Regions from separate parts of the Homo sapiens genome. Here region 1 is linked to region 2. The links are contacts of gene promoters, found by promoter capture Hi-C in human tissues and cell types (Jung and others, 2019). All regions are on one chromosome and are shown on one strand. The core of a region is centred on a gene start or on the middle of the fragment in contact, and the rest is flanking DNA. Distances in the headings are between cores, read along the strand shown.

Region 1 (5,474 bases), core at 2,614-5,113, 41 kb before region 2:
GTTCCTCTGGCTGAGACAGCTTTTGCCCAGGTCCTTTGCAGGCCTGGCTCCTCCTTAACCTTTAGACCTCACCTCACTTCCTAGGAGGGCCTCACCCTGTTCTAGTCCAAGGGTGCCTGGTCATTATTCTCTTATTTTCCCTTTTCTCCTTCTGAGCACATATCATAATTTGTCATGACATCATTTTCCATGGATATATGTATTCTTTCTCACCCCTATTTGAGTATAAGGCTGTGGGCAGAAACCAGGTATCATTTTTGCCACTCTGTCCCCAGAATAATGTGGCATTGACTGGTAATGTGACTCTGGGTAAGGTTCCCGTGGTTCAGTTTCCTCATCTGTAAATTGAGAGTGATGAGACTACCTATGTCATAGTTGTATTTGGAGGATGCAAATTTGGAGGACTCATTTTTGGATGAGTCCAGGAATTGCAGAAATTACTTGGGACCAAAGTAGCAACATGGGAAGGACAATGACTACAGACGCCCACTGTTCCGTTGAATGTAGCGACATCGTGTTTTCATTACGTTTTATTTCTCAAGTGTCACAGACATCACTGGCTGTCTCTTGGCTTTAGCCTCCATGACCCCTGTGAGATGTCACTGGCCCCATTCTCCTCTGCCCTCCATGAGGCCACCTCCTCTCAGTGATGCTTTGCCACTGTGGGATGTTGCTGTTACCTATTCATGCCTCTCTTCTCTTCTGGACTGTGAGATTCTCAAAGGCAGGGATGATACCCAGTTAATGTACACATCCTCAGGGCCTACATGGTGGCCAGGTGTGGAGGGGAAAAGATATCATGGAATTTATGCTCTCTAGTGAGTTCCTTCCTGACTATAGTGAGGGAGAGAGAGTGAGGAGGTAGGGAGAGATGAGAAAAAAATATCCCCAAGGGTCCGTATTAGTTTTCTATTGCTTTCTATGGCCAACCAATCCTAGGGAAGCTCAGAAACCTGAAAACATCTTCTACAGGTGATACAGCACTGCAGGAGGAGCTGGGAGCAGGCCATGAAGGGCCAGTGCTGGTTTTCCCACTCATAGTGTGTCCTGCTGGGTAAGTCACTTACCTTCTCTGAACCCCAGTTTCTTGTTCTATAAAATGGAGATAATGGTGCTTGTTCTGTGGGTTGTTCTGACAGCTCATTGAGAACATGCACACACACACACACACACACACAGACACACACACCACACACACATACATACACAGTCCCTTGCACATAACTTGAACTCATTGAATTCCAAATGCATTCTGAATTGCAAACCAAAAAGTATTTGAAACAGGCCTCAATCGAGCTAGAAGTTTATTTTGCCAAGGTTAAGGACATGCTCAGAAGAGAGGTTCATGCCTTTCTCCAAAGATAATTTTGGGGGCTTCAATAATTAAAGGTGAAAAGTAGGCTGGAGCAGGGAAGAAGGAGGGTAAGGTCACATTACTGAGTCCATGTGTTGCAAGAGAAAAGGAGCAGGTAAGAGAACAGTCAGTCATGTATTCATTTCATGCTTAGTGAATTGGCACTTTACATAGTGTGAGGTGAACATAGAGATATTTAATCATTGGGAGCGCTCTCTTAAGAACAAAAGGAAAGGCAGTTCCATGCATGACTCAGCTTTCGGCTTAATTTTTGTTTGTTTGTTTTTTTGTTTGTTTTGTCTTGGCAGAGTGAATTGGGGTTTTGAGTCTTTATTTTCCTTTCACAGGTTGAATTTTATTTTGGCTCTGGCTTTCATTCTGCTTGATATTGTTGAGGCTTTTTCACTTCCACAGTTTAGTGAGTGGGAGGGAGTGGCACCCAGTGGCTTCTTTTCCACCACTGTTCAACAAGTGGGACGGAGTGTTACAGCTATTTTACTCCCACCGCCCACAGCTCGGTGAGCAGCAGCACTGCAGCTCTTTTGCTCTCGTAGTTCAGTGACTTCCGGGTTTTTGTACCGTGACCAAGAGGAATAAGGTATATGAACACTGGAGAGTGAGTAAGGCAGAGTAGAATTTTACGGAGTGACAGAAAGAAAGCTCTGAGCATCAAGAGGGGACCCAAAAGCAGGCAGTCGCCTGTGAGTCTGAGTCCAGGATTTTTATGGGCTTAGAATGGGGAAGTGCATGCTGATTGGTCCATGGGTGGGCTTAGAAAAAGCACCATTCAATTGGTTAAAAGGCATCATTCAGAAGGTACCAATAGAGAGAGTAGGTAAGACTGGGATGGAAGTTCTCATTCTAGTTGTGGACTCTATCTGGAAGTGGCAGCTCAGTTTTCAGGCTTTAAACCGTCCTTGGCTTGAAGGTCAGGTTTCACCGGGAACCCACCTCTGTCTGCCTAGGAATCTGTCAGTCTCCTGTTGCTACCAGCATCAGGGTTGTTTCCCCCTTCTCATCAAACTGCATGCCATGTGCCAGATGCAGGTTACAACTGAAAGGTAGGTTCCATCAGAAAACAGAAACCAAGCAGAAAGGATTTAAAGTAGGTGTATTTGTATTTTAGGACTGTCATAACAAAGCACCACAAATGAATGGCTTAACAAACAGAAATTGATTCTCTCACAGTTCTGGAGGCCTGAAGTTCAAGATCAAGGTATCAGCAGGGTTAGTTCCTTCTGGGGCTGTGACAGGGAATCTGTCCTAGGCCTCTCCCCAGCTCCTGAAGGTTTTCTGGCCATCTTTGGTGTTCTTTGGGTTGCAGAGGTATCACTCTGATGTCTGCCCTCATCTTCACACAGTGTTCTACCTGTCTCCATGTTTCTCCTTTCCATAAGGACACCAGTCTTTATTGGATTAGGGACCCACCCTATTTCAGGGTAACCTCATTTTGACTAGTTACATCTGCAACTAGCTACTCCCAAATAAGGTCACATTCTGAGGTCCTGGTGGGGTAGGGCTTCAATAAATGGACTTTCGTGGGGGATACAATTTAACTCCTGAGAGTAAGGAATTTATTGCATAGATAACAGTTAGCTGAGCTGCCAAAGAGGAGAGAGATCAGCCCCCGCAGGAAGGTATTGCTATCTCTGTGGAGTCCTAATTAAAGGAAAAGAGTCAGGCTGGCAGAACCAGGGGAAAGCAAAGAGATAAAGCAAATAAGCTACAGGTCTGCCTTTCTTTATGGCCCAGGATGTATAGCCCTCCTGCACAGATAATGTTCATAACTCACAAACTTTCTGTTTATCCTCAAATGCTTCATTTTATCATCAAACATCTCCTTGGTGAACAGAAGAATGCAAGTTAGCTCCCTGCTGCCGTGGCATTATCAATCAACCCAAGAGCCGTCCTATAAAATCTCCAGCAAGTCTTTGTTTCCTGGCAGTCAGCTCCTCTTCTGCTGATTCTGCCCATTGCTCCTTGGCAACGTATTTTCCTACTTTGTCTAATAAATCTGACTTTCTTTACCTACAATTATCTTGGTAAATTCTTTTAACCCCTCACCACTGGCACCGATAGATGCTGCTTACCCACAACAACCTTGACCAGGAAGAACCAAGAGGTGGTATTTGTTGAACCTGGAGATTAGGGTTTCCTAGCAGCAGCTAAAACCATGGCAGCTGCCACGGATCTGGCACTGTGGAGGAGACGCAGTTCTGGCCAGAAAGGCTACCAAAAGTAAGAGTAAAGGGGAGAAATACCCTGGCTTCTCCCTTCCTGCTGCCTTCCAGTCTTCCTGTTGGCCTCATGTGGGAAGCCAGGAACCAGGGCGTCTGCGAAATGCAGTGCCCTGCAATGCCCTTGAGGATGTGAAGGGGAGGTCATGGATCTGAGAGCAAGGAGACCACAGTCAGCGCCATGCTTTTGCGTGCGTGCCCTCATCAGCCTTCCCAACGTCCACGTGGGGGAGGAATCACAGCCTTCATTTTACACATGAGGAAACCAAGACTCAGAACTCTTGAATACCTTACCCAAGGTCCCAAAGCCAGAATTCTGCATCAGAGCAGAATTCAAACTCGTTCCTGGTTGGCTCCAAGGCTGTGCTTTTTCTACTGCACTGGATCAGTCAGTTGAATGGCAGGATTGCACGTAATTCACACATTATCCTTCCCGGGACCTAGCACAATATCTACCGCATATCAGACATCGATAAATGGTGACCAAAATATAAATGGTAGTAAGTGATTCATTACCAAATAAATAGCAAAAATGGCAGGTGGTTTGGAATTTAGGGAAGAGGGAGAATGGTGTTAGCCAGAGTGGTTTCTGTAGGCAGAATATGAAATTGGAGCTGGTCTTGTGCCATAAGATACCAGAAGGACAGTGTCGGTGCAAAGAGTCAAACTCTGTAAAACCTTTGAAGAGATTGATTCTGAGCCAAATATGAGTGACCATGGCCTGTGACACAGCCCTCAGGAGGTCCTGAGAACATGTACCCATGATGGTCAGGGTGCAGCTTGGTTTTATACATTTTAGGAAGGCATGAGACACCAATTAAGTACATTTAAGAAATATTAGGTTGGTGCAAAAGTAATTGCAGTTTTCACCATTACTTTTTATTTAATTTAACCTGAGAGATTGTTTTAATGGCAAAAATTGCAATTACTTTTGTAATACATTGGGTTTGGTCCAGAAAGGCAGGAAAACTCGGGGTGGTGGTGGGGTGGTTATAGGTAAATTTAAACATTTTCTGGTTGACAATTGGTTGAGTTTGTCTAAAGACCTGAGATCAAACAGAAAAGAATGTCTGGGTTAGGATAAGAGGTTGTACAGACCAGAGTTTTATCATGCTGATGAAGCTTTTAGCTAGCAGGCTTCAGAGAGAATAGGCTGCAAACTGTTCCTTATCAGACTTAACGTCTGTGTTGATGTTAACGCTGGAGGGGTATAATGAGGCAAGTGGGACCCCCATTTCCTGTCATAGCCTGAAACAGTCTCTCAGGTTAATTTTTTTTTTTTTTTTTTTTTTTTTGAGACAGAGTCTGGCTCTTTTGTCACCCAGGCTGGAGTGCCGTGGCACGATCTCAGCTCCCTGCAACCTCAGCCTCCCTAGTTCAAGTGATTCTCTTGCCTCAGCCTCCCAAGTAGTTGGGATTACAGGCGCCCACCTCCACGCCTGGCTGCTTTTAGTATTTTTAGTAGAGACAGGGTTTCACCATGTTGGCCAGGCTGGTCTTGAACTCCTGACCTTCAGTGATCCACTTGCCTTGTCCTCCCAAAGTGCTGGGATTACAGGCATGAACCACTGCATCCAGCTCTCTCAGATTAAATTTAAAGAGCCCTGGTTTAGGAGGGTGTCCATTCAGATGATTAGGGGGCCCTATTTTATTTTTGGTTTACAACAGCGTTCTCTAGCTTGTGCAGTTGTACTTGTTTCGGCTCGGATGATGGCCTCAGCAAGTTCTTTCCTCAGTTTCCCTCCCAGGCCTCATTTCCTTTATCTAATAAATGTGGGCTGTTTTAAAGCAGAGGTTGTAAACTCAAATTTACAAATAGGCCAGCAGGTGTTTAAAGTGAGAAAGAGGCAATGACAGAAATGCCAGCGTGAGGATGGGGAAAC
Region 2 (5,161 bases), core at 2,540-5,039:
GGTATGCTCCTGGGTCATCTGGTAAGCCCAATCTCATCACCAGGATTTTTATAAGGAGGGAGATGGAGATTTAACTGCAGTGGTGGGAGCTCTGGCAACAGAAGCAAGAAGTCAGAGTGATGCAGGGAGGGGCCACAAGGAAAGGAAAGTGGGGAAATTCTAGAAGCTGGGCTGGGCATGGTGGCTCATGCATGTAATCCCAGCAATTTGGGAGGCCGAGGTGGGCAGATCACCTGAAGTCAGGAGTTCAAGGCTAAAAAAAAAAAAAAATGGAGTTCAAGGCCAGCCCAGCCAACATGGTGAAATCCCGCCTCTATTAAAAATACAACAATTAGCTGGGAGTGGTGGCAGGTGCCTGTAATCCCAGCTACTTAGGAGGCTGAGGCAGGAGAATCACTTGAACCCGGGAGGTGGAGACTGCAGTGAGCCGAGATCGCATCATTACACTCCAGCCTCAGCGACAGAGCAAGACTCCATCTCAAAAAAAAAAAAAAAAAAAAAGAAAGAAAGAAAGAAAAAGAGAAAAAAAATTCTAGAAGCTGGAAGAGGGGCAAGGAACAAATTATCTCTTGCATCCTCCAGGAGGAACTCAGCCCTGCCACCACCTTGATCTTAACCCTGTAGGACTCATTTTGGGCTCCTGACCTCCAGAACTGCAAGATAATGCATTTATGTTGTTTCAAGCACAGAACTTTGGGGTAATTTTTTACAGTAGCAACAGAAAATGAAAACAAGGTCCAAGACTGCTCAATGTGGGTCCCCACCTGGGAGTCACACAGGGACAACTTTCTTCTCACTGTGAAACCGGAGGTGAAGCTCTCACGGAGATACGCGATTTGAGAGCAGCTAGCAGATTCCCAGGTCTTGTAACTTTGGCCAATGAAGGTAGCTTGGGTCAAAAAGAGCAGCTCAGTTGTAAAGAGGCCCTGTGGGGATCCACCTGGGCTTCACAGTCAAGTCCCTACCACCACCTTCCAGCCCACCAAGGAGTCCCAGAAAAACCGTAGAGGGGACTTCTGCAGAGGGATTTTTGTTTTTTTAACTGGGCAGTTGGGAGCTCAGAGCCCTTGAGATTCCATTAGCCATGGTAGGATGCCTGCAGTCCAGTTGCTGGAACGGTGGCTGATGTATATTTCCTTGGTTTTAAAAGCTGATTCTGTCCCTCCAGACTTTTGTTTCCTTTGGGGTCTGGATTATATTCTATCCAGCTTTGCACTCCCAATGTCTGACATTAGTAGGTTCTTAACAAATGTTAAAATAAACGGGGAAAAAAGCCCTTGGGGTCACGCATGGCTGGAACTTCAATTTCCCTTCTGATCTCCCTTTACTTTAGAGACCTCATTTTACCTGTGTCAACAAGTATGTGCTGGTGAGGCTCTACCTTGAACCTGGAGATGATGCTAGTTCTCTCTCTCTCTGACGTTCCAGAACTTATTCAACTGAGTAGTCTCCCAGCGCACCTCCCCTACCACCTCCCAACTGTGCCACTGGCAGCAGGCTCTGCAAGGCCCTGCCCTGGCCATGCTCCTGCCCCTCTAAGGCACTTCTGTGACTCCTGGTCCTCAGGACCAAGTCTGTCCCCTCAGCAGGCCTTGCCAGCCCCCTCATCTGTGCCCTGCTCCTCACCCAGCCTTGTCCCTGGCCATGGCCCTCCACAGGTCCCAGGGCACAGGAGACTCGACTCTCCACGGGCTCAAGTCTTTCCCTCTGCCTGGTGAGCTCCCAATTCCCCTTCCAGCCCTGATTCCAGGGCCTCCTCCTCTGCATGGTGGCTTTGCCCATTCTTCAGTCTTCCACCTGCTCAGCACACCTCTCCTTAGCCCTGAATATAGGGTTTGCACCCCTTACTTTGTTCTCTGACTCATCTTTTTTTTTCTTCATAGCACTTATTATAACTTATTGTAATTTAATGTTGTGGTCTCATCCCTCTTTTCTGTCTGTGTTCCCACTAGTGTTACCGGAAAAGGATCCCAATCCAGACTCCAGGAGAAGAATTCAAGGCAAGTTCATAAAGTGAAAGCAAATTTATTAGGGAAGTAAAGAAACAAAAGGATGGCTATTGCAGGCAGGGCAGTGGCACGGGCTGCTCGACCAGATATACTTATAGTTCTTTCTTGATTACATGCTAAACAAGGGGTGGATTATTAGTGAGTTTTCTGGGAAAGGGGAGGGGATTTCCCAGAACTGAGGGAAACTTTTAGACCACATAGGGTAGCGTCTGGACGTTGTCATGACATTTGTAACCTGTCATTGCACTGGTGGGAGTGTCTATTAGCATGGTAATGCATTATAATCAGCATATAATCAGCAGTGAGAATGACCAGAGGTCACCATCTTGGTTTTGGTGGGTTTTGGCCAGCCTCTTTATTGCAACCTGTTTTATCAGTGGGGCCTCTGTGGCCTGTGTCTTGTACCTACCTCCTATGTCATTCTGTGACAAGAACGCCAAACCTGCTGGAAATGCAGCCCAGTAGGTCTCAGCCTCATTTTATCCAGCCCCTATTCAAGATGGAGTTGCTCTGGTTCAATGCCTCTGACACTAGTGTGCCCAGAGGCGCACGCGCTGGGCTCTCGCAGGTGCAATCATTCTCTTCTCTGCGTCCCGCCCTCCTGGTAACTGACAAGCACCCATCTCAGCCCCTCACCTTTCTCGTGATACGGCCAGCCCTCTCTTCTACTTGATGGGCACCTGACATGGTGAGGGTGGTGGGGTTCAGTCAACACATGTGAAATGAATTTCCACAAGAGTGGCTGGAAAACAAGACCGGAGAGGGAGGAAGCAGCTGGATTTTTGAGCTCCCTGGGTCACAGAGGAGCCCGATACTGCCTGTTTATGAAATCGTTGCTACCCAGCAGGCAACCAAATAAAGACACCCCAGAGTTTAGGAGACAGATTGGGAGCTGGGGGTGGGGGAGGTCACACAGATTAAACCATGTTCTCATCTAGTTCAAAATACTCCTGCCTGGCCCATTTTTAGGAACAGTGCTCAGAAAGAAAAAGTAGAAGGGTGCCCCGGGCCTGCACCTGTTCATGGTCTGCCTTTGGGGGCTGGAAAGCCCATTAGCCAGGCGAGTGTCCTCATCAGGCCAACGTGGGCCCATATCCCTGCTCTGCTGGGGGCGCTGGCAGACTATAAAGGCTCTCTCCGAGGCTTCACTGTCCTCATCCCAAAAAGAAGGACGCGATGCCCCTGTCCTCAGAGCTGAAGTCACAGCCAGTGAACAGGGCTGCCTGTAGGTGGAGCCCCTGGCACAGAGGGGTGCGCGTTACCTGCTCTCACCTGCTCAGACAGGAGGGGGCCTCTCAGATCTGGAAAAAGAGCCAAGCGCGCCCCCTCCCCAGGCCCCCTGGTGGCGCCAAACTTCCCAAAGTTTCGGGCAGCTGCGGCACTAGTCGGTGGTCTATTTCAGACCCGCTGGAAAAGGGAGCAGAGTATCAGTGAAGTCTATAATTGGACAGAAAGTTGTCAGCCCCTCTTTTGGGCTTCCCAGGGCCACCTCGTTACTGCCTGGACCCTAACGCTGTCCAGTCCCCCACAGCCCTCCCGAGGTCCCTGCCCACCTTTCCCCGCAGCCCCTCGCCACTGTCCGGGGCCTCGTCGGCCTCTCTCGTTTTCTCTGGGGTCCGCCCCTGCACCTCCGGCCCCTCCCCGCTCCCAGCCCCCTGATTTTCCTCCTCCTTCGCGGCTTGGCCCCCGCCCGCTCCCGCCCCGAGCTCCTAGGCCCGCCCCCGCCCCAGCTCCTCCCCAGCCCCGCGCTCTTAGCCGGGGAATCCCAGCGCTGAGGCCAGCTTGCCCCTGGGGAGGCTCCAGACAGCTTTGTTCCTGGGCAGTGGCGGGGCTGGCCGAGGCTGCGGCGTTTCTCCCCAAGGAAGTGTCTTCTCCGCTTTCCCTGTTCTTCTGTTTCTCACACACTTTCTATCTCATTCTGTAACTTTCAAGCCTTTCCTTCTAACTGTATGTATTTAGTTACTTGTTTTCAAGCTGGTTCCCTCTCTGGCCCCCTGGCCTGGGGAAAGCCTCCACACTTACTGCGGGTCTTGTTTAGAGTCTGAGTTTGTGAGATTATTTGGGGGAGAGTGGGCGAGTGGCTGACAGGTGACCCCCAGGAGGAGGATTCCTGGGGCTGGTGTCTTCTCCCAGCTGCTGCTTCCAGTGGGCCTGGGCCCAGGACTGGACCTCCGCTGGCACCCCTGAGTGCCTCCCTGCCAGGTAAGACCCGGGTTCTCTTCTTTGCTGCAGTGCTGAAGGTCACAGACTTCAGCTGACGCCCATCTTCCCAGATGACAGTGAGGGACGAGAGGCGGGGGGTGGATGCGGGCTGGGGAGATGTTCTCTCCAAATACAGACGCGTTTCCTTCTGAAGCCTGAGCACACTTCGCTCTTTAGGGAGTGACTATAGTTGGAAGCAGATGTGTCTGTGTCTTGACTTAACTTCAGAGTAAAATAGCGGCAAATCCGTGAGAACACACCTGTTTGATTCTAGCTGAGCAGCGAGGAGCTCAGCGATGGCCGCCGAGAGTCAAATGCGAGAGCTTGTTTTCAGATTGCTATAATACTTTAAAGTAGTTGAGATGTACCAGCTCTTTAAACTTTCAAGTAAGAAGTTTGCAGTAAAAGGAGAAAAAGATGCGGGGGAAATGGAGCAGGGGGTGGGGAAAGAATAGTCTTCGTTTGGTTTTACATTTACTGTCAGGGAACTTAGCTTTCTTGATCTAAATTTAGATCTCATTTCTATTTGAGCATTTTATCCCCCCTCTCCCAGCCTTCTCTAGGTCAGAGAGGTGTTTTTGTCCTTCCCCCAATCCCTGCGTATCATGTTCTGTAGCAGACCAGAGTTTCGTGTGCCACTTTATTGAGCACGATTTGAATTAGCTGTGTTATTGGAAAATGAGTCCTCACTTCTCCCCACTCAAGGCAAGACTCAGGGATGACAGGTGGACATGCTTATCAACCATCTGCAGAAGGAGGCACCGCCTGCCGGCCTGTTCCAGAGCTGTGTGCCGGGTCCCCCTCCTCAGAACTTCATTCCATGACTTGTCATCTTCCAGAGCCCCATCCTGACACTTTTTTTTTTTTTGAGGCCGAGTTTCACTCTTGTTTCCCAGGCTGGAGTACAATGGTGCGAGGTGCAGCCTCGGCTCACTGTGACCTCTGCCTCC

The links. The method cuts DNA at HindIII sites, captures the fragments that hold promoters and counts their contacts. A contact is called where the count stands out against the background at its distance.
Region 1: a fragment that was not itself captured here is called in contact with the fragment with the promoter of COL22A1 in region 2 in 2 of the 25 tissues and cell types used here (bladder and spleen).

The regions. Positions count from the first base shown.
Region 1 is chr8:138,953,892-138,959,365 of GRCh38, reverse strand. No RefSeq gene overlaps it. Among named protein-coding and RNA genes, the nearest start is that of COL22A1, 43 kb to the right of the region's middle. RefSeq lists an enhancer at 4,429-5,117. The HindIII fragment of the contact is 8,715 bases long and covers 1-5,474 here.
Region 2 is chr8:138,912,669-138,917,829 of GRCh38, reverse strand. It overlaps COL22A1 (collagen type XXII alpha 1 chain), which reads left to right and starts at 3,789. Exons shown (of 65, transcript NM_152888.3): 1 at 3,789-4,211. RefSeq lists an enhancer at 3,843-4,688. The HindIII fragment of the contact is 9,946 bases long and covers 1-5,161 here.